4 separate regions of the Homo sapiens genome follow, and all the other regions are linked to region 3. The links are contacts of gene promoters, found by promoter capture Hi-C in blood cells and fetal thymus (Javierre and others, 2016). All regions are on one chromosome and are shown on one strand. Each heading gives the region's core, a stretch centred on a gene start or on the middle of the fragment in contact. The rest is flanking DNA. Distances are from core to core; before and after follow the strand shown. Region 1 overlaps COL22A1 (collagen type XXII alpha 1 chain). Region 2 overlaps COL22A1 (collagen type XXII alpha 1 chain). Region 3 holds the start of FAM135B (family with sequence similarity 135 member B). Region 4 overlaps COL22A1 (collagen type XXII alpha 1 chain).

Region 1 (7,731 bases), core at 1,524-4,023, 190 kb before region 3:
CTGCACAGCAACCCTGCTGGAGGAATATGTGTTCATTCATTTAATCCACACAGCAACCCTGCTGGAGGAATATTATTATTTTACATGGAGGCTTCCTGCAGCCCAGCCTGCATTCTTCTGGCTGGGAGTCTTCTCTGGCCTCTAAAGAGTATGTTGTTGAGCCACGTGATGGGTGGCCAGCAGCACCACCAGCAGAATAGCTCAGATCACTTGTTCTCAGCTGTCATCGCTCTGAGCGTACGTCCTGCACAGGATCCCAGAGTCACAGCAGGACAGAGCTCCAGTGGCCAGCAAGTGTATTTCTTGCTGCCTGTTCTCCCCTGCTTTATTTATTTTTATTTTTATTTTTTGAGGTGGAGTTTAGCTCTGTCACCCAGGCTGGGGTGCAGTGGCATGATCTTGGCTCACTGCAAGCTCCGCCTCCTGGGTTCAAGTGATTCTCTTGCCTCAGCTTCCCAAGTAGCTAGGATTACAGGGGCGTGCCTCCATGCCCAGCTAATTTTTGTATTTTAGTGGAGATGGGGTTTCACCATGTTGGCCAGGCTGGTCTTGAACTCCTGACCTCAAGTGATCCGTCTGCCTTGGCCTTGCAGAGTGCTGGGATTACAGGCATGAGTGTTCTCCCCTTTTTGCTTCTCTGTTTCCCTACTATTGCATCCATGGGACGCTTGCACTTAAACCATGTCTCAAAGTCAACCTTTTGGGGACTCCAAAGACACTGTTGGAGCAGATGCCCCAATGCTAAGGCTGGGTTCTTAAGGCCATCCTCATCTTCCCAGAGTGTTCACTGTGCCAGGCCACGCCTTCTGATAGTTCACATTCCAGAGCAGGCGGTAAAGCTTCCAGCAGACCATGCCTGCTGTTAAGAGCTCTGATGTGCACTGTTACAAGGCCAGCCCCCCCCCCGGGAGAGCAGCAGTCATGGGCAGGGAGGAGGTGGAGCTTTGGGGAATTTAAATAAAGTATGGGAATTGGGTGGGAGCTGTAGTCGTTGACTTCAGGGGGACCTGATGATTCTTCCCTGGGGGTCACGAGCCACCAAGAGTGACCAGTCATCTTTAAATTCACCATGTCCGTAATCTTCCTTGCCACAGGGTGCTCCCGGCCTCAGAGGCACCCCAGGGAAAGATGGGGAGCGTGGTGAGAAGGTAAGACCAATATGATCTCTCAGCACACAAGTGAATATCCTTAACTTCTTACAGGCACTGAAGGAGCAGCTCACTCTGCTCGGGCCTGGTTTAGGAACCAGCAATCAGAAGGGGTTTACTAAGTAGGAGGGAGAGGAAGACTGTGCCATCCCATTGGCTCATTTATTCCTCACAACAGACCTGAGAATCAGACAAGTGCCCATTAGACAGATGTGGAGACTGAGGCTCTGAGAAGTTAATTAGTTTGCTCTGTGTCTCATAGCAAATAAGCTACAGAGCTAGGTCTGTCTGACTCCAAATCCTGTTTTCTCTCAATTCAGTGCACCAACTTATCCATTATACACCTATGCTCACACACGTAAACCTTCCCAAGCTATGAGATTTTTTTTTTTTCTTGAGACAGGGTCTCACTCTGCCACTGAGGCTGGAGTGCAGTGGTGTGATTTCCACTCACTACAACCTCTGCCTCCCGGGTTCAAGCAATTCTCATGTCTCAGCCTCCTGAGTAGCTGGGATTACAGGTGTGCGCCACCATGCCTGGCTAATTTTTGTATTTTTTGCAGAGACGGGGTTTTACCATGTTGCTCAGGCTGGTCTCAAACTCCTGGACTCAAGTGATCCACCCGCCTTGGCCTCCCAAAGTGCTGGGATTACAGGTGTGAGCCACTGAACCCAGCCTGAGATTTTAATTATTAATAAGAGAGACACATGTTCCCATACCAATTAAAAAAAAAAAAAACCCAGAGGCCAAGAAGGAGAATCTACACCCTTTTAAGTTCCATTCTGCATTTCTCTGACATAGCACCTTAGGAAATGTCTCTGAGGTTAATTGGTGACACTGAGCCAGGGCTCAGGAAATCAGACGTACTCATTTGAATGATTCAGCGTTTGGACCTGAGTCAAATGCCAGCTCTCTTGCCCTAGTTGCATTGATATAAGCTAGGGTGACAAAAGTGATTCTCAACAGGGGGTTTTTACCCAGGGAGATATTTTTTGTTGTCACCACTAAGGGGAGTAACTGCTCCTGGCATCAGTGGGTAGAGACCAGAGAACCTGCTAAAAACCTCACAGCACATGAGACATTCCCCTTATAAGAACGATCCTCCCTGAAGGTCAATAGTGCCAAGGTTGAGAAACCCTGATCTAAATAAAGCACACTCTCTTTGAACCTGGATTTTCTCATCTGTAAAATGAGGGTGATGCCGCATTGATCATAGGTTGTGAGGATTAGCTGAGGAATTGGGGAGTCATGTGCAAAGGACTCAGCAGATAACAGGTGACAAGGGTACCATGTGGTTGTGTCCTGCCCTCCCTGCGTGAGCAGATCACACTAGTATCCATGGACAGGAAGAGACGATATTGGGGCATGGATTGTCCACAGAGGTCCCTCCTAGCACACACCTGGCCAAACTTCTTAACATGAATTCTTTCAAGTTCAAGTTCATCTACTTGGTGCCTTTTAAAGAATCACTTCAGTTCTTATGTTTTTGCATAATTTAACACGAGGAGATGTCATTTGCCTTTTTGCAGGAAGGTTCAATTTTAAGATACACGTCTCCCAGAAAAAAAGAACTTAGTGCAGAGAAAAATGATCAACACATCTATGAAGACTCTCTTGGGTTTTTGGAGTGTTGATCATAGGCTTAATAATAACCCTATGGGCCGGGCGTGGTGGCTCACGCCTGTAATCCCAGTACTTTCGGAGGCCAAGGCAGGCAGGTCACTTGAGGTCAGGAGTTCATGACGGGCCTGGCCAACATGGTGAAACCCCATCTCTACTAAAAATACAAAAATTAGTTGGGTATGGTGGCACATGCCTGTAATCCCAGCTACTTGGGAAGCTGAGGCACAAGAATCGCTTGAACCTGGGAAGCGGAGGTTGCCTTGAGCTGAGATCACATCACTGCACTCCAGTCTGGATGACAGAGTGAGATTCCATCTCAAATAATAATAATAATAAATAATAATAATAACAAACCTTATGTAATACAGGTACAAACATTCATTTTTTGAAAAGAAGATAATGCCATTTCAGACTGCCTAGATTAAGCAAAGGAAAAACATCTGGATTCATCTGGTATTCCTTAATTATACCATGTCTGAAGGACGGCACATTATAAGTAGGACATTGGTAACCTGGAAGGGGATGGCCTCTTAGGAGGACTAACAGGTGCATGTTCAGAAACCAGAAATCAGTGGGCTATTGCCACATTCAGCCTCTAGAGGGAGCCAAATGCCTTTCCTTGGCTGAGCAGAGGCCCAGGCTGAGGGCCGGGCCCGGGATTTGGAAAGGAACCTCCAGGGCTCTGCAAAGTGGTAAAAATCCCGGACATCACAGCATACTTTTTCCCTCTCACACCATGTCCAGGGGCTGGCCTGCGGCTAGGGGAAGCTGATCCTGCTCCAGGCTTGGAGAGAGGCCCTCTCCATCCTTGCTTTGCATATCCTTGGCTCATCTTACCTTACCTCTGCTCCATCTGAGAATGTCTGGAAACACTGTGATTGCAGCTTCCACCCAGGGCAGCCCAGTCTGGGGAAAGGAGTCCGTCTGGTTCGCGGGGCTCAACCCAGTGTTCCACAGTCAGGGCCGCCACAAGGGCTGTTCAGAGCCCTGTCGTCAGAGAAGATGAAGCACTGGCCTGGAGCAAGCTCAAAGCCCAGGTCCTCAAGCCGACCCCGGTGCCCATGCTAGCACTCTCACACTCTCTCTCTCTTGCTCTCTCCATTGCAGCTTTAGGCTCTGTTCTTATAGTTGAAAACCTAACTGTAAGAGGGATTGGATTGTATCTACAGGGTTCCAGGGAACAGACTTAGTGTCCAATGTTGGGAAGATTTCAGAGAAGGTTGAGTATAAAGAAATGTTGCATAACAGAGCTACCTGACAAAGGAATGCCCAGTGTGGAGTGGTAGTGAGGTCTCCGCTCCCAGAGGAGTTCAAGCAGAAATGAGGGCTGATCTGTAAGAGATGCACCGGAAATAGATTTGCCCGCACTGGGTGGGAGGTCGTCACTAACGTCCTTTCCTTTTCCATGTTTTGCATTGAGTTGATTGACTAAGGCTGCAGTAACAAAGTATCATGAACTGGGTGGCCTAAACAGCCAAAAATGTACTTTCTCCCAGTTTTGGAGGCTGGAAGTCCTCAGTCAAGGTGTTGGCAGGACTGGCTCCTTCTCAGGGCTGTGAAGGAAGCATTTGTTCCAGGCCTCTCTCCTTGGCTCATTGGTGGTGTCTTGTCCCTGTGTATTTGTGTCCTCTTGCCTCTATGCATGTATGTCCAAATGCTTCCTTCTTTAAAAGACGCTACTCATATTGGATTAGGACCATTGGGGAGGGTCACACTCCAGTATGACCTCATCCTAACTTTAATCACATCTGTGCATTGAAGTAGTAGGGGTTAGGACTTCAAGACACGAATTTTGGGGAACACAATGTAACCTATAACACACATTACACAGTCCATCTTTCTGTGTCCCAGAAAGCATGGGCCTTCTAAAATCATAAAGGCAGCCCCAGGAAACCTACAAACCTACTCAAGCTGCTCCCCCATAGAAAAGCTTCGTGCTGAGTGTAATTGACCCTGGGAAATGTCTACTTTTCTTTCCAGGGTGCAGCGGGGGAAGAAGGCAGCCCAGGGCCAGTTGGTCCCAGGGGAGATCCTGGTGCTCCTGGGCTCCCTGGGCCACCCGGAAAAGGGAAGGATGGAGAGCCGGTAAGTGGAAGGTCGGGGGTCCCAGTGCCTGTAGAAACCAGGTGAAAATTAGAGAAGGAAAAGGAAAAAAATCTAACTGCCAAACTTTGCAGAAATTGAACCGTGGCCAATGAAATGGGCCTGGTTGGGAAAGGGGTTCAGGCTAGGGCAGCACAACCTCATGGACTGCTGGCCACATGCCAGCCTGGGCCAGTGCTGGGGATACAGAGATGGATGAGACAGGCTGCGCCCTGGAGATGCTCCCATCTCATGGAGAGACAGTCAGGCAAACACATCCCCACAGCTCAGGACAAGTGTGGTATGCGTAAAGAAGGACTTCTGGTCTACTCTGGTGCTTTCAGCCAAGACTTCCAAACGTAGAATCATGGTTTTCATTGTGGCTGTGAGTGCCAAAGCCCTTCAGCCTGAAGTGAAGGTTTCAAAGCCTGCTTTGAAACGAGGCCTTGCCCCTTACTTGCGCAAGTCTATACAATAAGGCTCTTCAATGGGAAAGCAAACTGAGAGAGGCTAAGAGATTTCCTGAAGGCCACACAGAGACAGTAGGAGGCAGAGTCGGAATTCACATCCAGGGCCTTGTGGCTCAAAACCAGATTCTGTTTCTTTTGTGCAAGTCAGGTCATAGTGAGTCTCACCCATCTCTGGGTCCCCAGCAGAGGATGCAGTCAGCCTGGCACGTGGTGGATGGGTCAGTGTTCACTCTCAGCTCCATGATTGTCCTTGTATTATTTATTTCTCCAGGGACTCCGTGGATCACCTGGACTCCCTGGACCCCTAGGAACCAAGGTGAGTGCTTGTCCAAGAAAACTGTGGGTGCCACGAGTTGCCGTTTGAAAGAGAACGTGGAAAAATTGATTATAAGCATCTCCGGTTACCTCAGTCCACTTCCATGTTTCTCAGCTCATCGTGTTCCATTTGACTAAAGGTTCTAGGACTTTTTTTTTTTTTTTTCGAAATCTTACTCTGTTGCCCAAGCTGGAGTGCAGTGGTGCGATCTCAGCTCACTGCAACTTCAACCTCCTGGGTTCAAGTGATTCTCCTGCCTCAGCCTCCAGAGTAGCTGGGACTACAGGGATGCACCACCATGCCCGACTAATTTTGTTTTGTATATTTTTAGTAGAGATGGGGTTTCACTATGTTGGCCAGGCTGGTCTTGAACTCCTGGTCTTGTAATACCTGCCTCGGCCTCCCAAAGTGCTGGGATTACAGGTGTGAGAGAAGATAGAACCAGTGCACCCAGCCATTTCTATGACTCTTAACTGTTACATTGAAGTAGTTGTCATATAATCGGTACTTAATAAATACTTACCATTAAATGAAGTGGTGGGAGACACTGACTTTCAATCGGCAGAGCGATAGGTCTAAGCAGTCTTGAATTATGAGTCTCATTGTGGTACCAGATGATTCTAAAATTTCAGAGGCTTAACACAGTAAAAGTTCATATCTCATGGACACTAGGTCTATGGGAGTCTTGCTGTGGGGAGTTCTGATCCACACAGCCATTCAGTGGTCACGTGTGAATCCCATGGCTCTTCCATCCTTTAGTTTCAGAATCTTCTACCAAATTCTTGGGGTGCAATAATAAGTAAAGGAAAAGAGAGTGGAGAACCCTGTGGGAGGATTTTATGGGCCAGGCCTGGAGATTGCTAATTCATTTCCACCAACACCTAGTGACAGTCACACAGGGGAGACTGGGGCATGTCGTCTGCTGAGGCACACAGGAGGAAAAGAGAAATGCTTGCTAAATACCAGCCAGTCTCTTCCTCAATTCAGTTGCACCCACAATTCAGAAACTATGACCTTTTTCATGGGGAAGTGTTCTTAGGAGAAATTTCCTGAGTGGACAGGGAAGTTTCCTAAAATACCTTCTACAATGAATCATTCATTCATTTACGCATCAATTACCAATCAATTACCAATGCATTCATTACTTTATATACTGCATGTCTGCTGAGTTTCTTACCACATGTGTAAGATTTTAAGGTGAGCTGTGGGATGACAACAGTGCATATCATGTGTTTCAGGACCTCCAGTGGCTCACGGTTCAGCCAGGAAAACAGATATGTCAACAGACGAAAAGCAGATGAGTGCTAGGAGAGAGGGTAGCTCAGGGCACATGTGGGCTCAGAGGGGGCTCGCTAACCCAGCATGGTTTCATTACCATGGCTTCTTGAAGAAGGAGATGTTTGTCCTGGTTTTAAAGTGCATGTAGGGCCGGGTGCGGTGGCTCACATCTGTAATCCCAGCACTTTGGGAGGCCAAGGCGGGTGGATCATGAGGCCAGGAGTTCAACACCAGCCTGGCCAACATGGTGAAACCCTGTCTCTACTAAAGGTACAACAAATTAACTGGGTGTGGTAGTATGCGCCTGTAATCCCAGCTACTTGGGAGGCTGAGGCAGGAGAATCGCTTGAACTCAGGAGGCGGAGGTTGCAGTGAGCTGAGATCATGCCATTGCATTCCAGCATGGGCGACAGGGTGAGAATCCATCTCAAAAATAAATAAATAAATAAAAATAAAATAAAGTGCATCAGCAGTTAGCAGGGGAAGAAGTTGAAGAAGGAGTCATTGGCAGGGGAATTAACAGGGAAAAAGACACTGAGGCATGAGGCAGAATGTGTTCAGAGAAGAGCATGAGCTCTAGGTATGCCCATATCCAGTGAAAATTATTTGACTAACTCAGATGCATCAACTTTTAAAAATGTGGGTGAAACAGTCAATGACTGACTTGAGAATGTTTACATTTTGGGCTTTCATTTGACATGCATATTCAAAATAATAATAAAAGTGTTATTGTAAAATTATATTACTTCTTTTGTACTTGCATATGTCTATGAAAACAATTTTTAAAGTTTCCTATATGCCTTCAATGTCTTC
Region 2 (7,458 bases), core at 811-3,310, 220 kb before region 3:
TCTGTCCTCTCCATCTCCTACTAGACCACTGGGATCCAGGGGATGAGGTCAATGAGACCACTGAGGTTGCCTCCTGGGATGGAGAAAGGAACAGGAGTGGATATAAAGGGACAAACAGAAAACAGCCACTGGTATCCATAAGCGTGTTTTGCACGTGAAAAGAGCTGAGACTCAGAGAGATTTTGATACACGCCTAACCTACAGAACCACGGGTGGGACTGCATGGCCAGCCCAGCCCACAGGGTCTGACTCTGATTGCTTTGGAGGGAGGCTCCAGACTGCCACTTGCCTTTGGCAACATGCGGGCAGGTTCAAGGAGGAAGAATGCACTTTTTAAATCACAGTGTAACAGAGGATGTATGCCTACTCTCTCCAACCTTCTTTTACAAAAACAGGTTGGAGAGTATGATGAACCCTAACTTGGCACACGTGGTCCGGGAAGGAAAGTCCCTTACTATTTTCACCTCCTAAGGACTTGGATCCCTGGTCCCAGCCCCTTCTTAGAAGAGCAGCCCCCACTCAGGAGCCAAGCCAGCACCCAGGATAGTGTCTGGTCTAGAGGTGCAAGTAGGTACTTCATCTATAATATTTCAGCTCATGTCAAAGCCCCAGAGAAACCTGTGCTGATCAGAAAACATAATGGAATTTTTAGAGATCTGCTTGGTGAGACAACTGCAGTTGCATGAACCCCCTACGGCGGGGCGGTGGGGGTGGACTCATAGGGTGTGATGAGGTTTTGTTGTGGATGGAGTCAGGGGTGAGGCTTTAGACTGGAGTCAGCATGATTTGGTCAGAATTTGTCCACTGGAAAATCGCTGATTAGTTTGACACATGCGTGAGCTGTTGCCAAAACCGCACATGCACGAGATGTTTGTCCACGGGCCTATTTGTCTGAAACACAAGATCCTTTGCTAAAGCAGAGTGAGCTTGAACAGCGTGCGGGGAAATCATGGGTTCCGTATACTCAGTATGTTTTGCAAGTTGCAATTTCTTGAGTTTTCCGTTGCTCACTCTGGTGATCTTCATAACAATGAACTATGAAGTCATTTTCGTCTTAACCCCCAGTTTATAGGTGAAAGAACTAAGGCATAGAGAGATGTACTGTCTTACCCACACTCACAGAACCAAAGCTTGGCTGGGACCACATGCTGACTCCAGGCTAAAGCACCGCCCCCCCACCCCATCCACGACAAAACCTCATCACACCCCAGGAGTCCACCAGACATAGGGGGTTCACACAACTGTAGTTCGTCAGTCGAAGGGCTCTTTTGCCAAGCAGGTCTCTAAAAATTCCACTATGTTTTCTGCCCAGGCTTACAGAGTGAGGGTGGGTGTGAGTCCAGACAGTTGGGCTCTAAAATACGTGCTTTCAACCACAATGACTGACATCCTTTCTACTAGATTCTAACTTGTGCTTCTAGTTCTTACCCTTTCACCAAAGATACGTCCATTTGCTCTGACAGTCATTGTCTAAGAAGACTGATAGAACACGTACCCTCTGCTGATAGAACATGTACCCTCTGCTGGTAGAACCCTCACTCTCTGTTTGTAGAATACTTACCCTCTGCTGGTAGAACCCTTACCCTCTGCTGGTAGAACACTTACCCTCTGCTGATAGAATACATACCCTCTACTGATAGAACATGTACCCTCTGCTGATAGAACATGTACCCTCTGTTGGTAGAACACTTGCCCTGTGCTGGTAGAACCCTCACTCTCTGTTTGTAGAATACTTACCCTCTGCTGGCAGAACCCTTACCCTATGCTGATAGAACACATACCCTCTGCTGATAGAACATGTACCCTCTGCTGAGGAGAACATATGCTCTCTGCTGGTAGAACCCTTACCCTCTGCTGATAGAACACGTACTCTTTGCTGATAGAACATGTACTCTCTGCTGGTAGAACACATACACCCTGCTGATAGATGCTGATAGAACCATTACCCTCTACTGGCTCTAAAGGGGGTACAGGCATGGACAGGGTTGGGAGTCCCACCCTGAGTAAGGTGCTGTACCAGGCACTTGCTTTTCTTGCTGTTTCATGCTCAGTTCTGACCAAATGCACCTCTAGTTCCACGGCAACTTTATAAACACCTGCCCCAAACCCCTCATAGGAGTTTATTTGTGCTTGCCTGCAGCTTAGTAGAAAGAGCACCATTCTTGGACCCATAATGCTGGCCTGGAGTATGGTCCTGGTTCTATCTGCTGTGTGGCATCTTCCCTGACCTTCCTGTGCCTTGGTTTGCCAGTCCAACAAGGACCCTCAGAGTTGTTAAAGAGCATAAGGATTTCCTGTTGGTGGATGACTTGTGGCAGGCTCACTGAGTGCAGGACTGTCCTGAGCACCGTCTGTGTAGGGACTTAGGTAATCTCAGGCCAACCCCATGAGGGGTCACTGCTGTCAACAACATCCCCACTTGATAGATGAGGAAACAGAGGCACAGAAAAGCTAAGTTGCTTGTGCAGAGCTGCATGAATAGAGGTTTAGAGTCAAGATCTAAACCCTGCCAGTGCACATAGAAAGTCCTGGCTCTTAGCACAGAATGCCACACGCTAGGCCTGCCCTGGGGCTGCCTCAGGAGGAATGGCACCCACACACCCAGAGGGCTCTTGCATCCTTCCTCCTCCTGCATGATGCTTTTCAGGGTGCCCCATTCTCCCAAGTTTACTTTCTCCCCTCCAATTTCCAGATCTTTTTCTGCGCAGGTGCTTTCTGGGCTCCAGGCAGTGTCTCCCATCCTCCTTCTCTGGGGCTGGAGGCTGAGGACTTTGCTCCAGGCAGACTTGCGGTCTATAAATAGAGAGCCCAGAGTGGAAAAGGCTCTGCCTCAGTAAGCCATTCAGGCCTGCTGCTGCCGTGGACTTTTCAGAAATGCAGTTTCTATTTGAGAAACTCATTTCCAGAATGCAAAGGCTTAGCGAGACCATAAAGCCCCTTTGATTACTTGGACGGAATTGCCAGGGCCATGGCAGTCACATTCAAGCTTCCAAAGAATCTGGTTTGCCTTTCTTTTCCTCCAGAGAAATATGTGATAATTGACAATTTTGGTCAGAAAATCCAAAAGAAGACATTAAGGCAACATTGCCCTCTTCTGACTGTGCTTTGCCTGTCTCTGCCTCTGCTTCTCCCTTCACGTCCCCTGTTCTTCCCCATTACTGGCACTTAGGCCCACAGCATCAGGGAAGGGTGTGTGTGATGCTCCTGTTCCAGCAAGGGGCGCTGACAGTCAAACACGTCATGGAGGAGCTGGGATTAGAACCCAGGCCTGTTGCATCAACCCTAACACCCATTGATCCTTCTTAGTCAAGCCTCTTTTCCAAAGGCAGAGAGCCCCCATGGGTCTACCTGCTCCAGCTCGCTGTTCTTCCCTTGTCCACAGCCCTCAGGATGAGGAGGCTATTTCCAAAAGGCAGTCTTCATGCCCTCAGGGTGAGAGACACATCTCTCCTCCAGCCCTCTTCTCATTGATACCCATTCATATATTCAACTGGGAAAACACTTAACTTTGATCATTGGGACATTTTAATGGAGAGTAAATTGGTTTAGATGAGATTGGTTCTGGAGCTTGAGTTCAACAATGTCAGGAAGAGAATTGGGTAAAATCAAATAATACACAGTAACACCAAGAAAGTGCTTTTGTTTCTGAAGCTACTGGAACTTTAGTCAGAGCAATGCCACACAATTGTAAAGGGCATGCATTCTGAGCTTAAAACCAGGTTCGGCCATTTGCAGAATGTGTGACTTAGGGCAGGTTCATTGACATTTTTATGCCTCAGTTTCTTCATCTGTGAAATGGAGATATATATATATAGATAGATAGATAGATAGATTATGGGCATTGCTACAAAGATGAAATGGATTCACACATGGAAACTACTTAAACCAGGAGCTGGAATCAAATGCTAAATAACAATAGAAATAATGGTAGAAAAGGATACAACATTTTATAATCATATTATTGTTGTTGACTAAGGGCGAACTTGTCTCTCTCTAAGCCAACTATATTCAAACATTTTTCTATTTCATAACCATATTTGGAAGGCTTGCAAGAGAGCCAGTCCTGGGCTGGTTCAAGAAGCAGATCTAGACATAGACACCTGTCCCCTGGGACCATGTGGCACACATGAAATGACAGGCTTTGGAAACTGTATCCACTCACCATGGACTGTCTTGCGTGGAGCAGCTCAGTGACGTCCTTTCCTCAGGCCAAATGTAATAACACCGTACTCCTTACGGTCTTGCTCAATCTCTGTGCCATGCTGTGAGCTGTATGTATTATCAGCATCATTGTTCTGCAAAGAGAAAACATGCCAAAGTAGGTAAAATAATTTATAAAATGGTATAGTTAGGTTTCAAGCTCAGGTGATTCAACTCCCAAGCCTGTGTTGCTTATAGGAATGTAACACTGTTCCCCCCAGGTTCCTGAGAAGAGCCCACTCCTTCATGGGGGTGGGGCAGGGCCTGCTGGCATCCCTAGGACAGCTGGACTTCAAATGTGTAATTGTGCTCAGGGCATGTGTGTGAGGATATTTGCTGTAACAAATCAACATTAGTTATGATTGCAATCAGAGGAAAACCACATAAATGTCATCAACAGGAAGATGGATAAGAAATAACTTTATTACCTTTTTTATTATACTTTAAGTTCTAGGGTACATGTGCACAAGATGCAGGTTTGTTAGATATGTGTACATGTGCCATGTTGGTGTGCTGCCACCATTAACTTGTCATTTACATTAGGTATATCTCCTAATGCTATCACTTCCCCCTCCCCCCACCCTACTACAGGCCCCAGTGTGTGATGTTCCCCACTCTGTGTCCAAGTGTTCTCATTGTTCAATTCCCACCTATGAGTGAGAACATGGGGTGTTTGGTTTTCTGTCCTTGCGATAGTTTGCTAAGAATGATGATTTCCAGCTTCATCCATGTCCCTACAAAGGACATGAACTCATCCTTTTTATGGCTGCGTAGTATTCCATGGTGTATATGTGCCACATTTTCTTAATCCAGTCTATCATTGATGGACATTTGGGTTGGTTCCAAGTCTTTGCTATTGTGAATAGTGCTGCAATAAACATACGTGTGCATGTGTCTTTATAGCAGCATGATTTATAATCCTTTGGGTATATACCTAGAAATGGGATGGCTGGGTCAAATGGTATTTCTAGTTCTAGATCCTTGAGGAATCGCCACACTGTCTTCCACAATGGTTGAACTAGTTTACAGTCCCACCAACAGTGTAAAAGTGTTCCTATTTCTCCACATCCTCTCCAGCACCTGTTGTTTCCTGACTTTTTAATGTTCCCCATTCTAACTGGTGTGAGATGGTATCTCATTGTGGTTTTGATTAGCATTTCTCTGATGACCAGCAATGATGAGCATTTTTTCATGTGTCTGTTGGCTGCATAAATGTCTTCTTTTGAGAAGTGTCTGTTCATATCCTTTGCCCATTTTTGATGGGGTTTTTTGATTTTTTTCTTGTAAATTTGTTTAAGTTCTTTGTAGATTCTGGATATTAGCCCTTTGTCAGATGGGTAGATTGTGAAAATTTTCTCCCATTCTGTAGGTTGCCTGTTCACTCTAATGGTAGTTTCTTTTGCTGTGCAGAAGCTCTTTAGTTTAATGAGATCCCATTTGTCAATTTTGGCTTTTGTTGCCATTACTTTTGGTGTTTTAGTCATGAAGTCCTTGCCCATGCCTGTGTCCTGAATGGTATTGCCTAGGTTTTCTTCTAGGGTTTTTATGGTTTTAGGTCTAATGTTTAAGTCTTTAACCCATCTTGAATTAATTTTTGTATAAGGTGTAAGGAAGGGATCCAGTTTCAGCTTTCTACATATGGCTAGCCAGTTTTCCCAGCACCATTTGTTAAATAGGGAATCCTTTTCCCATTTCTTGTTTTTGTCATGTTTGTCAAAGATCAGATGGTTGTAGATGTGTGGTATTATTTCTGAGGGCTCTGTTCTGTTCCATTGGTCTATATCTCCGTTTTGGTACCAGTACCATGCTGTTTTGGTTACTGTAGCCTTTTAGTATAGTTTGAAATCAGGTAGCCTGATGCCTCCAGCTTTGATCTTTTGGCTTAGGATTGTCTTGGCAAAGTGGGCTCTTTTTTGGTTCCCTATGAACTTTAGAGTAGTTTTTTCCAATTCTGTGAAGAAAGTCATTGGTAGCTTGATGGGGATGGCATTGAATTTATAAATTACCTTAGGCAGTATGGCCATTTTCACAATATTGATTCTTCCTATCCATGAGCATGGAATGTTCTTCCATTTGTTTGTGTCCTCTTTTATTTCCTTGAGCAGTGGTTTGTAGTTCTCCTTGAAGAGGTCCTTCATGTCCCTTGTAAGTTGGATTCCTAGGTATTTTATTCTCTTTGAAGCAATTGTGAATGGGAGTTCACTCGTGATTTGGCTCTCTGTTTTTCTGTTATTGGTGTATAGGAATGCTTGTGATTTTTGCACGTTGATTTTGTATCCTGAGACTTTGCTGAAGTTGCTTCTCAGCTTAAGGAGATTTTGGGCTGAGATGATGGGGTTTTCTAAATATACAATCATGTCATCTGCAAACAGGGACAATTTGACTTCCTCTTTTCCTAATTGAATACCCTATATTTCTTTTTCCTGCCTGATCGCACTGGCCAGAACTTCCAACACTATGTTGAATAGGAGTGGTGAGAGAGGGCATCCCTATCTTGTGCCAGTTTTCAAAGGGAGTGCTTCCAGTTTTTGCCCATTCAGTATGATATTGGTTGTGGGTTTGTCATAAATAGCTCTTATTATTTTGAGATACGTCCCATCAATACCTAATATATTGAGAGTTTTAGCATGAAGCGTTGTTGAATTTTGTCAAAGGCCTTTTCTGCATCTATTGACATAATCATGTGGTTTTTGTCTTTGGTTCTGTTTATATGATGGATTACATTTATTGATTTGCATATGTTGAACCAGCCTTGCATCCCAGGGATGAAGCCAATTTGATCATGATGGATAAGCTTTTTGATGTGCTGCCGGATTCGGTTTGCCATATTTTATTGAGGATTTTTGCATCGATGTTCATCAGGGATATTGGTCTAAAATTCTCTTTTTTTGTTGTGTCTCTGCCAAGCTTTGGTATCAGGATGATGCTGGCCTCATAAAATGAATTAGGGAGGATTCCTTCTTTTTCTATTGATTGGAATAGTTTCAGAAGGAATGGTACCAGCTCCTCTTTGTACCTCTGGTAGAATTCGGCTGTGAATGCATCTGGTCCTGGACTGTTTTTGGTTGGTAGGCTATTAATTATTGCCTCAATTTCAGAGCCTGTTATTGTTCTATTCAGGGATTCAGCTTCTTCCTGGTTTAGTATTGGGAGGGCGTATGTGTCCAGGAGTTTATCCATTTCTTCTAGATTTTCTAGTTTATCTGCATAGAAGTGTTTATAGTATTCTCTGATGGTAGTTTGTATTTCTGTGCGATC
Region 3 (7,026 bases), core at 564-3,063:
TAGCTAATAGCTACTTCTCCAAGTTTCTTACATAGCCTTCTAGCGTATTTTTATGCCAATGCAAGCAATACAAATATGTGTATCTGTCTCCTTGTTTCACAACAGTTGTCTTATTTTAATATTATCTTATTTTATCTATTCTGCACTTTGCTTTTTCACTTAATAAATCATGGAGCTGTTTTATCCAGACAATACATCCAATACAAGTAAATCCTATGCTCCTGGCATATCTCTACTGCTGGGGACTAGAAAATGCAGAGGAAAATAATGAGTGCTTGCACTGACTTTCAAAAATAAGGTTGCATAAAAATGCAATGTCAATAGCAAAATAAATGCCATATGGTTATGAACACATTTAAGAGACAAATATTGTAAAAGAAAAGCACCCATTTTCTCTATTGAGAAATTCATATTTATTTGCCATTCACCAAACATTTACTGAGGGTATGCATTGCCCTGGGCTTGCTGGGTGCTGTGGGGAGGACAAGCAGGGTAGATAGCTCAGAGCCTCCATCTGCCCAGGCCCACTATGTCAACAGCCTCCTTAGGACACCTCTTTCTGCAGCCTTAATCCCCACCCTAGCCAGCACCACACACACTTCAACTAAGGTGATCTTCCCTTCATTCCCACCCAGCCTTTCTCCTGCTTAAACTGCTTCACTGCCCTCCTCCCCACCACCTTCCCCATTCCCTTCCCATCCTAAGGGTCACATTGTCAAATTCCAACCCCTTCACTTGGATCGCAAGGCCTTTGGTGTGCAGTGCCTGCCCTGTAAACCTCACCACTCGCCTGCCTCACCTCTCCTTGCCTGCTGCTGCTAGGTTCCTGCTGTTCTGTCCTGCCTCCAGGCCTCTGTACCCTGCTCCTCTTGTCCTGGAAAGAGCAGTCTTCTCTACCCTTCACCGCCCCACTCATTTGTTCTTATACCTTTTTTTCAGGTATCTTTCCCCAATTACTTGCCCCTGCCCCCAGCCTGACAGGGTTAGAGACTCCTCCTGCCAACTGCAATTGCCTGGTTCCATTCCCTGCTTCCTCCTGGGGTGTGAGTTAGTGCAGCCCAGTCTAATGGGGGACATAGTCATCCTCTAATGCCTGGTTCCATTCCCTGCCTCCTCCTGGGTGGAGTTAGTGCAGCCGAGTCTAGTGGACGGGTCACTGGGCTTCCGAGTCCCAGTCTTGGCTCCTTCTCTAAGGCTGTTTTGTCATCTGTCACAGGCATGCCACGAGAACTTGCCAGCACAGTGGTGGTGATAATTAGAGTTCCCAATGCCCCTTAAGAATGCTCAGTAGACGGGAGCTGGCTTAACCCTCCCCAATCTTCCTCTCCCTCCTCCGTGGACAGAATCTCACACGTCTGTGAACCCCCACGTTCAGCATGAAGTGAGGAGCCCATCGGATGACGGGCCGGCTGGCTGGTTGAAGGCCACTGCTGACTTCGCATTGGAGGTATGGGTTGCTCAGCGCTTTTACCCTTTCTCAGGCATCTACTTGTTGCCTGGGCTTCTCTTCCAAGTTCAACAGTCCCCTCCCAGCCAGTTCTCCGCCGCGCCCCGCCCCCGGATATCTGCAGGGACCCTTTTCCTGCCCGAGGCCTGGGGTCTTGGCTCGAGAGGGGAGCCCCGCCGCGGGGACTGAGCATGCTCGCGCCGGTCAGTCTGGGAGGGCCGCACGCGGGGCCGCAGCCTGCGCCCTGGGCACCCGGGCGGCCGAGCGGGCGGGGTTTGGCCGCCGGGCGGCCCGCCCCGGGCTCCCATCAGGGCCTCGCGGCGGAGAGGGACCGAGGTGGGAGCGCGTGAGCCGCGCCGCCAGCCAGTCGCGCAGCGTCTACCCACGCGGTGCGCAGCGGCTGCGGAGCGGAGCCAGCGGGAGCAGCAGGGCGGGCTCTCCCGGCCGCGAGGGCGCGCGGCGCGGCGCGGAGGGTCTGGCCGCGTCCCGGCGGAGGAAGGAGAGGAGTGAGGGCGCCAGAGGTGAGCGCAGCCCGGGAGGCGCCAGCCCAGCGGCGCGGGCGCAGCCGGTCGGTCCTTGCTTTCTTGCGGCGCTGGCGGCTGCGTTCCCCCGACCGCGCTGACAGCCTCGCGTCCTGGCGCCTGCTCGCTGGGGCTGCCCGGAGGCCGCGGCCGGGCAGCTGTTGCACGGAGAGGGGGGCAGTTGCGGGGTTCCATAACCATAGCAACCGCATCAGCACCGGCGGCGGCGGGCGAGGGCAGCATCCGCTCGCTCCTCCTCCAGGCAGCCTCGCCGCGGGGACCCAACACCAGCTCGCAGGTGCTGCGGACTCCCCAGTCCGCCCGCCGCCGCCGCCGCCGCAACTGTTGGCGGCCAGAGACGGCGAAAGAGGAGAGAGAGGGACCCAGGAGCGCGGCCCCCGGGGGAGAGAGAGGGGAGCCCTGCAGTGGAGACAGGTAGGTGAGAGCGCTTCGGGGTCGGCAGCTGCAAAACTCTCTCGTCGGTGGTAGTGACGCTTCTGCAAGCGTGGTTGCCAGTTGGATGGCTTTCTGTCACGGAACAGCGATTCCGCCGCAAAATGTGGTTTATCTCCCTCGATTTTCCCCAGTCTCTCTGCCCTCCAGGTTTGCTGCACATCTGGACAGGTCTTGAGGGGATAAGAAGGGCCAGGGCTGTGAAAGGAGCGGAGAGGCTGGGTTAATGAGGGGTTCCCCCCAGGAGTCCCAGATGGAGGCTGAGGGGGCGCATGCAGACCTTGGCCATTGGGGTCCTTGGAGCCAGGGAACCCGGGGGCCAGGCTCAGGAGAAGACCGCACTGGGGTGGAGGGGACAGTGGCAGCGATTCCCTGTGATCCAGGCGAATGCACAGACCCGTTCTTCCTGTGGCTTGGCTGGGGACAGGGGTGTGCGGGGACACTGCAGCTCAGCTGTGACATGGAAAGGGACCAGCTCTTGATCTGTAGAGCCAGCTTCAAGCCCAGTCACTGGAGGGGATGTTTAGACGAGGCAAGTAGTAACTGTTATTATTTTGGGACACAGGAGTATCATGTTATTGCCGTTGACTATTAGGGATAGGATGGGAATAGAAATAAAATTTTGAGCTAGCAGTCAAGACTATGCCCTCCCCTTCTCCCCACCTCATTTCTAGCTCCCCACCCCACTTTGCCAGCAAAACAAGAATCACATCGCTCATAGTGACAATCCTTGCTCCTTGGCCACTGGCAAACTATCTCGCTTTCAGACAGCTGGAGACACCGCTTCAGTTGTCCATTTGAACCAGGGGGCATTGTTTTCCATCAGGTTATGATGCTCTTGATGTTAAGTGATGTGTCAAAGCCGAGAGGCACCTGGGCTGTCCATACAGTGTGATGGACTGTTAACTACATCTGCAGGCTGGAGAGAGGGCCAGAGCTTGGGGAGTGATTACAAACTCAGATCAGCTGGGACCAGGGCCCCGGAAGAAGGAAGATAGCATGTGAATAATTAGGGTCTGAAAGTTCGTGCATGTAGGTAAGTAGGCCTCTGAATAATATCCAGGATAGGCAGCCATTGACTTTGAAAGGGCTCTTCCTTTATATCGTGGCCTCGGGGGACAGTCTAAGTCCCAGTTAAAAGGCTATGTTCTTTAATTGGGCTTTTAATTTATGGTGTGGTTATGTTACCCAAGGGGATGTGATTTGGCCAACCTCTCATCTGGAGATTTATGTCATAATATGGATGATGTTATCAGAGCTTAGACAGATGGTTAGGTGTAGAGGAAAGTGGACCAGATTGGAGGGTCAGAAAACATGGATTTGAACTCTGATTTCCTCATGCACCTGCTGTGTGACCTTGAGTTGTTCCACCTCACTGAGGCTTCTTTCTCTCATCTGGAGAATGGGGATACTAACTAACAAGTCTTGCAGTTTACCAGGCTCAATCACAATCCAATGGGATGTGGAGAGGATGTTTGGGAAGGGCTTTTTAAAACCTGATGTCTTGTGCAAGTAAAAGGGATTATTGTTTTCTAAAGAATCTCTCTTCCTCAGATTGGCAAATCATTAAACATCCATCAACTACGAAAAGAGAGTGGAAATATTAGTCAGTGACTCACAGTGGAAACACTGTAGTCTGGTCCAAGATTCACTCAGGGCAACATAAAGAGGGCTTCTCAGGGGAAAATGCTGCATGCCATCCACCTTGCCTACAAGTGCTGAAGGTCAAGTGCTTTGCCATCAAATGCAGCACTCGTCTAGTTTGAAACAGTGAGGCCTGCTCACAATGGGTGGATTAAGTTTTTTTTTTTTTTTTACAGTATAAACAGAGATTTAGACAGAGTAGGGACTCATTTAACTGTTCACCTCGGGTTGTGGGTTTCTCGTGGGCAGGATTACTTTCATCCAACTCTGCTCTGTAATGTCAGGTGTTTACCAAATATTTGCTCAATTTGACTGAAATAGACTGAATGCTGACAGGTTGATTTTATTGCTGAAGGAATTATAATTTCTGGAAGGAACCAAGACTGTCTTATACTATTCTCTGCTCTTTTATGCCCCTGATTTTGCTCATGGTGGTGTCCCTGCCTAGAATAACAATTTCTCACTTCTTTCTTCCTTTAACAACCCAACTCAAATGCCCCTTCCTATAGGAAGCTTTCCCATATTCTCTCATGTGCTCCCACAACACTCTGGACCTCCTTTGTGATGGACTGTGCTGTGTCATCGCTTGCACACATACCTGTCCTTTCTGTTGATTTGATGCTTCCCAATGATAGGTGCCTCTCCCTATCTGACTTTGGTTGTGGCTGCAGCACCTGGTGCAGCCATGGCCATGATGAATGGTTGTTGAATGAGTGAATGAGCCTTACTTCTAACATGACCACCTGTGCAGACGTAGGCTGCAGAAAGGCCATTCCTGGCTGCTTTTGCCATCTCGGTCTGTGTGGCAAGCCTGGAGGATGCTCCATGGCTTGTTGTGCATTATTTAGGGTCAACCCACTGAGGCAAAGTGAAGGAGAACAGAAGCACATATTTTGCTTTAAAATGCTCATTTTTTTTCAAGTGGGCACTTTAGGATAACTGAAATCTGGTGTTGAATGGCCTTCATGTAACATTTGCTGAAAACATCTGATGGAATATTTTAAACTTGAAATATCTTTTTCTCGCTTCAATTTCTTTCCTTGATTTCAGCTCCAGTATAGTAAAAAAGCACAAGCATTGGATTAAGATAGCCTAGATTTAATCTCAGTTTTCAGGGTACCTGGAACTAGTGCACTTGATTGTCTTGTGCCTCAGTTTCCTCATTCATAAAGTGTGGATGTGAATACCCATCTCACAGGGATGTCGAGTTTTGGAGCGAATTAATAGCTGTGCCATAAAAGTAGTTCATTAACTGTAAAATATTAATACTCTAAGTAAATTTGTTCTTTTCCTTAATTTTCGTCCTAGAAAATGAGCAAAATCCTTGTCTAATTTCACAGCATCACATGGGCTTCAAATGCTGGCTCCTTCACTTACTAGCTCTGTGTGACCTTCAGTAAATCATTTTGCTCCCCCAGCCATCTGCCTTATCTGCATAGCATTGTAATGATAGCCACCTTTCAAGATAGATAGGCAAATGCACAGAAAGAAAAATGCCATGCCAGGCACTCAATACGTAATATCTGTAATTTGCAAATGATAGATGTAATTGCCAATAATAGAGGGTTCCAGAATTTTTTGAAATGCCCCAAATGAGTCTCCTCCCTGTATTTCACCTACAGTTCTACAAGAGAAGAAGAACTAAGAAGATGGTCATGGTCCCAACCACCAAGAACCTCCTTTGGTTACACATGGGAGACACCAGGAGGGAGCAGAATGACCTAAAGATTTAGATTCAGATTCAAGTCTGATCTTACCTGAGAGAGCTGGCAGAGATTCACGGACATCGCTAATATCTGCTGAGCTATCCAGACACTGGGTGCTCAGAAACGTCAAATGTTTCTGCTCAAACATGAATAATTTCTAGGTGGCTGCACACCCATCTCAGGAGTGACTCGTGAGGGAGATTTTAGCATCACAAAGGAAAGTGGCACTGTGAGCCTGGGATCTGTGGCCCTCCCTCCACCTCCGGTGTGGATGGAGTGGTGCTGTGATGTGCCTGGTACAGGGCATTTGCATAAGTAGCCTGCCCTGCGTCACTCATCATGCCAGACTCTGAGAATCAACTGTAGACAACACAAGGTCCTTGCCTTTCAAGAGCTTAATATGTAGTTGGGGGATCAGGCATGGAAATCGGCAAGAACAAACCAGGCAATGCCGGGGGTCTGCGGGAACAAAGAGGAGCCTCCGACATATTTCCTAGGTGGTGGCTGTCAAGGATGCCTTCTTAAAGGAGAGAGAGTCTAAGCTGAGTCTGAAGGAATCTCCACATGCAGACCTGAGGGAAGGGCAATCAGAAAGGGAGAGCAACATGCAGAGACTTGGAGACAAGAAGTAGCAAGGAAGAGAAAGGAACCGCAGGGCTGGAACAAGAGGCCAAGGGGTGAGGTGGTGTCCGTTGAGGCTTGGGAGATGGTAGGGTTACACGTTTGAGAGTTTTGCAAGCCAGTCTTTTCCTCTAACAGAAGGCCATAGGAAGTCACAGAAAGGTCTAGACCTGGGCAGGATGCTCTCCCCAGCTGTGATAGAGGCCAGGTTAGCGAGATCCAACAAAGATTTTATGGCCTCTTAGGAGGCTCTGCAGAGATGCTTGACTTCAGGTAATGAGAGGTGGGAAAAAGAGAAGGACAGAGAAGAAATAGTGTGAGAAGGAATAGTAGAGAGGAACAGAAGGAAGGTATCAGAGAAATGAACAGATTGCTTCCTATCTCACAAAAATATCAGTGAGACATTCTAGGGACCTTTGACCATTGATAGGTCAAGAGGAAGGAGGGGTCATGGTTGATACTCAGGCTTTCTTTCCATCCTCCCACCGTGAGAGAAGAAGGCAAGGACTAATAAACCAGGCTCTGAATTGATGTCCCTGCCTCTATTCTGCTTCCCAGTGTCTACTGTGCACAAGGCAGCCAGAGAGATCTTTATAAAACTAAAATCAGATTAAACTCTTTGCTCAAAGCCCTT
Region 4 (7,568 bases), core at 660-3,159, 140 kb before region 3:
TTTTTATTATGAAACACTTCAAGCATATCTAAAGAATAAAGACTGTAATAAAATGAACATTTATGTACCCTGCACTTAACCACAACAGCTTTCAATTATTATGGCCCCTCTTGTTTTCATTTATGTCCTCAACCATTTCTCCACACCCCCTGCCCACACATTATTTTGAAGCAAATCCGCTTTCAGGACATGTTTGTTTTTATAAATGTTGTCAGTTATTATTGAGATATATAAAAAGAAGTCCCTTTTATTGTCAGTGTCTTTAAGCAAAATTGTTAGTAGGGTTGGAAGGTGGATTCTGTATTGTTTTCTGAAATTTGATATTTGCACAAAGTAAAAAGTATTTTTCAAGTCATTTTAAAGAATTGCATCTTGTGTTTTCCTAGGGTCATCCTGGAGTTCCAGGTTTCATGGGGCCCCCAGGGAACCCTGGGCCACCAGTAAGTAATCATCTTTAATCCCCTCCTCTTTCGGCCTTGACATTTGAATGCACATCTCAACTCACCAGGCATGGTATGACACTGAGCATATCTCTCATTTTAAGGGATGGCCCAACACCCAAAAGGTGACAGAGTTGTCCTAAAAATGCAAGTCCCACAGGCATGTGGGGGAAAGTGCAGACGGTCTGGAGTAGGCTTGATGGACCATGCAATTAGAGTGATGTTGGGACTGGGGGACATTGGCAAAGACAGACAGACTTCTTCTTTTTTCAAATTGAGCTTTGGTGGGTAGGAAGCTAGTATTTCAAGATTATGATGGCAAGCAAAGAAGGTAGAAAATGAGAAATTGTAAGCAGCTTTCCCCATGTTATGGGGAGCCTGTCTTGATATTATCTCAATGATCTCCACTGGGCCCCCTGAGCAAATGTTCTCTCTGCTTTTACAGTAGCTGTAGCCTTGACATTGACTGGTGCCCTTCTCACCATTTCCCTCTGCCTTCAGTGTAGGCTGCCCATAGATTAGTCATGTTCCTCCTCTGATCAGAGTCCACTGCTGTTGCAGCCCACATATCCATCATGGGTAGCCATGGCAACAGGCACTGGAAATTAGTGTTCCTGCCAAGCCCAGGACCAGTCCCCTGGGATTTCCCATGGGTTCCACATGAGACCCTTGTCCCAGACCTTGCAAGGAGAGGATTTCTGGAATGACTGAAAGACCACCGAAAAGGATCCCCCTTCAAATAGGAAATACCCTGTTTGAAAGTATAGTGAAAAGAAGTTCAGTTAGGAGTATAAATTTAAAATATATGAAATTAAGCTTGCTTTGTCATCTTTTTAAACAACTCAACTTCTAGTTGTTAACTGTGTGTTAATTAGTGGAATAAGTTAAGTTGTTTTAAGTGTATATTTTCAATAAAATCCGATGAAAGCATGACATGGCATCTTTCACTTCATGTTGACTTTTAGAGCAAACTCACAAAAAGGTAAATTATCTACAAAAGCACTATTCAGTTTCCCAGAAAGCCTACTTTAAGTCTTTAATATTCAACACATTTTCCTCCCAAGCGCCTTTGATGTTAATATTATTTTTAATTTCTCAGCCTCACATCTTACCTGGCCCAACTCTGCCATGTGCACATTTGTGAAGGATATTGTAGGGAATTTATCAGTTTGCTGTCATTTAACTTCACAAAATTCTACAATTCTTTCAAGGCTTATAATTTCACTTAGTAGTTGCTTTGCACTGTATTTGAATATTATTGGATTTTGTAGCATCTGACAATCAGCAAAAAGAGAAACTGATAATGATGCTGATACGATCAGTAGTAGGGAGAGGTGTTAGTGTTAAGCAAAGAGGGGCAATTGAGAGGTAACTAATTTTACTTAAAAAATAGTTTATTCACGAATAATTGTATATTATGATGACATTAGCTTCCTAAATGACATTGTGCTCCTTAACAGCTGAGGATCTCAGAAAATGAATAATGGATTACAGCCTCATCTCCACTCCACCCTGGTAGTTCCAAACCCCATAACATGTTCCCAATGAAACCAAAATCCTGATCTGTTCTCACTGGAAGCTGCAATAAGTTAGAACTCTATGACTGCTGTAGGAAATGACTCCTGGCTTATTATTCTCATGCTAGATGATGTATTGGAGGCCCAGAAACAATCATAATCAGAAGCCAGCTTGTCTGTCTCCAGCTGATTAATGCTTTCAATTCACTTGGCAGATGTTTATTGAGCTTCTATTTTGTGTCGTGCTTTGTACTGTTAATAGCCTGTGAGAATGGATGCTGAGGCAGCTGCCTGTTTAGGTTCAGCAGCCAATCATGCAGAAGCAACTCCACAGCAGAAAATTAACCTTTCTGGTCATGTATGCATTGTTTTAGTTTTGCTCTTTGTTGTTGCTTGTTTTCAAGTGCTTATTAATTGTCAGGCCCTGTTGGAAATATGCAGGGATATGGGTAGCGAGCTGACAAAGCCCTTTCTTTTAGTATTTATTTTCTGGTGCTCAGTCAGCATCCTTATTCCAGATAAAACACTTACCCCATCCCCATATGCAGTAGGGAATTTTTTTTCAACTTGGCAAGATTCCAGACTCTAGGATGCCAGAAGCTTTTTATCAAAGTTATGTGGAAAAATCTAGATTTGTTATATTAGCTTTGGACTACATATTTAATTAAAGCATGAACCTTAGGTTACTTGTTAAAATATTATCACTCTCCCTTTATTTCATGAACATTTACTGGGTCCCTACCTAGTAGAAGTGATAGAGACAAATCTGATTGCACCCTGCCCCAGGAGTTTGTCATACATGGAAAATAAGACAGGTCTTCTACAGTTATATCAAATTTCCTTGAGATCCAAGACCATGATGTAGTCATTTTTACATCTCTAAAATTTGGCTTGTACCTAGTACAGTTTAGGCGCTTGATAAAAGTATGCAACAATTAAATAAAGGCTGCTGGAAAGACATCAATAGAGTACTGCGGGAACTTGCTTATTTATGCTTTTATATTTAGTTAATATCTGCAGGATTCCTTGTTGTGGGTGGACAATAGACACTTATATTCATGGAAGGTCCCTATTGGACAGCCCTTAGCATTTCTCTGGTGCTAACTCCTTATGTGTCATGAATTCCATTTTCTCAACAACCCATGTAAAATAGGTGCTGTTCTTTTCCTTCATTTTACAAAGGAACTGAAATACAGAGGGGTCAAGTAGGTTTCCTAGGCTTATACAGCTGTTGAGTGGAGAAATGGGATATGGGCTCAGGAACTCGAACTCTAAGAGGCTGCACTCTTAACCAATACCCTCTCTTCTGTGCCTAGCACCTTGTAAGCATTGCCGCATTGCTCCTCCCCTTCCTAATGGCATGTGCAATTTCCAGCCTTTCACTGTGAAGGAAACTAAAGTTGAGAGATGTTACATGACTCAACCAAAGCTAGTAAGAGGCACATGTGTGAATTTGTCTAAAGAACTGCTGCCTTCATAACCCAGTCAGTTCAACTTCTAATTCATTCATTTATTCAAGAATATTGATTATTTACTATATCCCAGGTACTGTTTTAGTTCCAATGAGGAACTAAATTTAGTGTTCCAATGAGGAACACTAAATAAATGAGAAATCAATAAACACTAGCATGTCAGATTTTTGCAGGTGCTATGGAGGAAGGTAGACAGAAAAGGGACCTCCCCAGGGCAGGGATGAGGAAGGGTAGGTCTTTCAGTTTTGGGTCTGGTAGGCAGAAAACCTTTCACTGAGAAGCTGATATCTGAGCTAAGACCTGTAGGATGGGAGGGTATGAGGCTGTGCATATGTGAGGGACTAGAATGTAGGGGGAAGAAACAGCATATGCAAGAGTCCCCAGCAAAAGTGTGCCTGGAGCTCACTTTGAGCTGCTTGCTCGGCTGCATAGAAGTCTTCTTCCATTCATCCATCTGTGCATCTCTTCACCCTTGAGTTGACACAGCAATTGCCTTCCTAATCTCCTGGAAGATAAATCGAGTTGTCCATTTATTACTTTTTGTCCTGAAATGTTGCCTGATATTAGCTGAAAATGCCCATCCTGAAGTGAGTTCATTTACTGTTTTCAAAGGGGTGACTGCCTGGCTAATGCATTGGCCCGTCCTAAAATGTGGATGCTATTCTCTGAACATCATGTATTCCCAGAGAATAGCTCAGCCTGATGAAGAGGCAGAAGCACATTTGAAATATTTATGGTTCAGGAAGCTAGGAAGGGGCACAGAATGTAAGATCTGTGTGTTGCTATATTAGGATGTTTTTACATTGCTACAAAGAAATACCTGAGGTTGAATAATTTATAAAGAAAAGAGGTTTTATTGGCTCAGTTCTGTAGACTGTACAAGCATGATACCAGCATCTTCTTGACTTCTGATGAGACCGCAGGGAACTTCCCATCATAGAGGAAGGCCAGGTGTGTCACATGGCAAGAGCAGAAGCAAGAGAGTAAAGGTGGGGAGGTCCTAGACTTCTAAACAACCAGATCTTGCATGAACTGAGTGGGGGCTCACTTATCACCAAGGGGATTGTGCTAAACCATTCGTGAGAGATCTGTCTCCATGATTCAGTCACCTCCCACCAGGGCCCACCTACAATATTGGGAATCACATTTCAACATGAGATTTGGAGGGGACAGATAACCAACCATATCAATTGCTTTGTATTCAAAGCAGAGGGTGCTAATGACCTCTGTCTAGATGCACAAGAAACTAGCTTTCTGCCTTGTCTTTTTTAGGGGGCAGATGGAATTGCAGGAGCTGCTGGACCACCAGGAATCCAAGGGTCACCTGTAAGTTCCTCAAGGAATGGGATCTGTTTTTAATCTGTCTTTAGCCTTTCTGGAACCCCAGGTGTTTGCCAATTCTGCTCTTGTCCTGTGTGCCTCCTGTGGCTCACATATTTTTGAGGTTCTGTTCACTACAAGTCTTGCAATGAAACTGCTGGAGGGTTTGCTTTCTGTTGGACCCCTGTTTACTTTGCTGCTAAAGTAAAGGTTTGGTTGGAATGATATGAAGATCTGTGATTCCAGAATTCAGTTTACAACTGTCAATGCAAATAAGCCCTACATTTAGGCCCCATATCTCAATTTCTTGTCAGTGTGGTTTCTATATTGAGCAGGTGCAGGGAAGTGGAAAGGCTCAGTGCTAACTCACCTAGGACTATGGTGTGCACCAGGGGAATGTCAGACAAGAGGCAGCTATTGTTATCCCAACTGTTCAAAAGAGGAGAATGGAATTAAAAAGAAGTCACTAGTCCAGGATCCCAAACCGCAACCAGTGGAGTTGGCATTTGAACCGAAGGCTTTTATCTCAAAATCCAGATTTCATTTCTTGAAGCTGCCAGAACCACTCTTGGTTTCAATGCCATAAAGGGTGAACCACAGTTTAGTAGGTATTATGTTAGTAGCCAATACATGCATGGCAAGTAAATGAATATATGGTACATAAATATTCCTTATCTCCATCTGACAGCTCCTCCCACTTTGGACCTGTAAGTTAGAAAGGCCATGAATCATTATCCACATCTTATAAATAAGGAAAGTGGGGATTGGAGAAGTGAAATGGCCAGTTCAGGGTCACACAGTGAGGGAATGTCAGAGCCAGGCGCAATCCCTAGGCCACAGGAATCTCACCATCATATTCCAAGGCCAGCTAGCAAGCAGGCCAGCCCTACCCTGGTATCTCTGGAGTTCTGTGCAAAGGGCATTATTACTTAATAAGACTTCGTCCATGTCAAAGGAGGAGGTCAGAGTCCCATGGGGTTATGTCACTTGGTCAAAGTCATACGGAAATTAGTGTCCAAGTTGGGAGTTAAGTCAATTTGAGATTTCTCAGTTCAGTGCTCCCTCTGCTATTCCACATTGACCCACCATGTGGGTGGTCCAGGCAGCCAGACGGATGTTGAGTCTGAAAAATCACAGCCACATGGTTCTGTTTAGGATCCTCATCTGGTTTAGGATCCTCATCTGGTTAATCCTTTTGAAGCCGCCCATCTAGAAGTCCCAGGATGAATAAAATATAAAATATACTGGGCCGGGCACAGTGGCTCATGCCTGTAATCCCAGTACTTTGGGAGGCCAAGGTGGGGAGATCACCTGAGGTCAGGAGTTTCAGACCAGCCTAGGCAACATGATGAAACCCCTCTACTAAAAATACAAAAATTAGTCTCGCACGGTGGCACATGCCTGTAATCCCACCTACTTGGGAGGCTGAAGCAGGAGAATCGCTTGAACCTGGGAGGCAGAGACTGCAGGGAACTGAGATCGCACCACTGCACTCCAGCCTGGGCGACAGAGTGAGACTCCATATGCAAATGATTTCCCTAATAAAAACTAATGGATTGTTTGCCTGAAGAGAATAAGATGTGGATCCAGGGCCAGGCACGGTGGTTCACACCTGTAATCACAGCACTTTGGGAGACCAAGGTGGGCAAATCATCAGGTCAGGAGATCGAGACCCATCCTGGGAAGCCAAGGCAGGAGGAACACTTGAGGTCAGGAGTTCAAGATCAGCCTGGCTGTGAAACGCTGTCTCTACTAAAAATACAAAAAATTAGCTGGGCGTGGTGATATGTGCCTGTAGTCCCAGCTACTCGGGACAGTGAGGCAGGAGAATCACTTGAACCAGGGAGGTGGAGATTGCAGTAAGCCGAGATTGCGCCACCGCACTCCAGCCTGGGCAACAGAGTGAGACTCTGTCTCAAAAAAAAAAAAAAAAAAAAAAAGATGTGGATCTAGGATATAAAACTACCACATTCTTGGAATTAAACTGTACTAAATAAGACTTTGATTCTGTCATGGGACCACTCCTCAAGCTATGGTAGCACTTGAAGCTGTCCGTGGTGCTGAAACTTTACCATAACCATCAAACCAGAATATACTGGAAGTTTTGTTTGCCCAGTGAGCACTGGTAGTTACAAAATAGAAGTAATTTTTTTTTCTTTTTCTTCTGAAACAGTTTCACTCTTGTTGCGGAGGCTGGAGTGCAGTGGCACGATCTTGGCTCACTGCAACCTCCATCTGCTGGGTTCAAGTGATTTCTGACTAATTTTTGTATTTTTAGTAGAGATGGGGTTTCACCATGTGGGCCAGGCTGATCTTGAACTCCTGACCTCAAGTGTTCCTCCTGCCTTGGCTTCCCAAAGTGCTAGGATTACAGGCATGAGCCACGGTGCCCAGCCAATAGAAGTAATTTTTAAAAGTTAAATGGGGGCAAAATTATAATAAAAAGATACATACAAACCTTAGTTCTGTTGTATTTTGAATTAAAAGACAAACTGTTTGGCAGGCTTTTTGACACAAAATAAAGCCCTTTACTTTGATTTTTGGTAATGAATGGAGTCCCTTGTCATCTGTCACATAAAAAGAACATCCACTGATCAGTTTTTGTTACTTTTTTGAAAGGTGGTTGGAAAATATAACAACATATGTATAACAATATGAATGTAGAGTTCTAGATTGTTAGGATTTTTTTTCCTAACCTTTTGTAGGTATCTTATCTTATAGCTATATCAATTTAGATGGTGAGTGGTGAATGACTCACTTTTGGTCAGCGTCTTCAAAACTCTGACTTAACTTCTATAAAAAGGGTATTTTTTTCCACC

The links. Contacts are between HindIII fragments. The CHiCAGO score rates a contact against its expected background, and 5 or more counts as called.
Region 1: a contact is called between a fragment that was not itself captured here and the fragment with the promoter of FAM135B in region 3, in 3 of 17 cell types (M2 macrophages, M0 macrophages and M1 macrophages). The highest score is 13.3, in M2 macrophages.
Region 2: a contact is called between a fragment that was not itself captured here and the fragment with the promoter of FAM135B in region 3, in 1 of 17 cell types (M2 macrophages). The highest score is 5.1, in M2 macrophages.
Region 4: a fragment that was not itself captured here is called in contact with the fragment with the promoter of FAM135B in region 3 in 1 of 17 cell types (M2 macrophages); the score reaches 5.1 in M2 macrophages.

Annotation. Positions count from the first base shown.
Region 1 is chr8:138,682,334-138,690,064 of GRCh38, reverse strand. It overlaps COL22A1 (collagen type XXII alpha 1 chain), which reads left to right. Exons shown (of 65, transcript NM_152888.3): 37 at 1,095-1,148; 38 at 4,753-4,857; 39 at 5,596-5,640. Among named protein-coding and RNA genes, the nearest start is that of FAM135B, 190 kb to the right of the region's middle. The HindIII fragment of the contact is 3,863 bases long and covers 842-4,704 here.
Region 2 is chr8:138,706,964-138,714,421 of GRCh38, reverse strand. All of the region lies in intron 30 of COL22A1 (collagen type XXII alpha 1 chain), which reads left to right. Among named protein-coding and RNA genes, the nearest start is that of COL22A1, 200 kb to the left of the region's middle. The HindIII fragment of the contact is 1,856 bases long and covers 1,133-2,988 here.
Region 3 is chr8:138,492,048-138,499,073 of GRCh38, reverse strand. It overlaps FAM135B (family with sequence similarity 135 member B), which reads left to right and starts at 1,813. Exons shown (of 20, transcript NM_015912.4): 1 at 1,813-2,403. The HindIII fragment of the contact is 6,997 bases long and covers 1-4,580 here.
Region 4 is chr8:138,627,882-138,635,449 of GRCh38, reverse strand. COL22A1 (collagen type XXII alpha 1 chain) reads left to right here. Exons shown (of 65, transcript NM_152888.3): 49 at 387-440; 50 at 4,702-4,755. Among named protein-coding and RNA genes, the nearest start is that of FAM135B, 130 kb to the right of the region's middle. The HindIII fragment of the contact is 1,301 bases long and covers 1,259-2,559 here.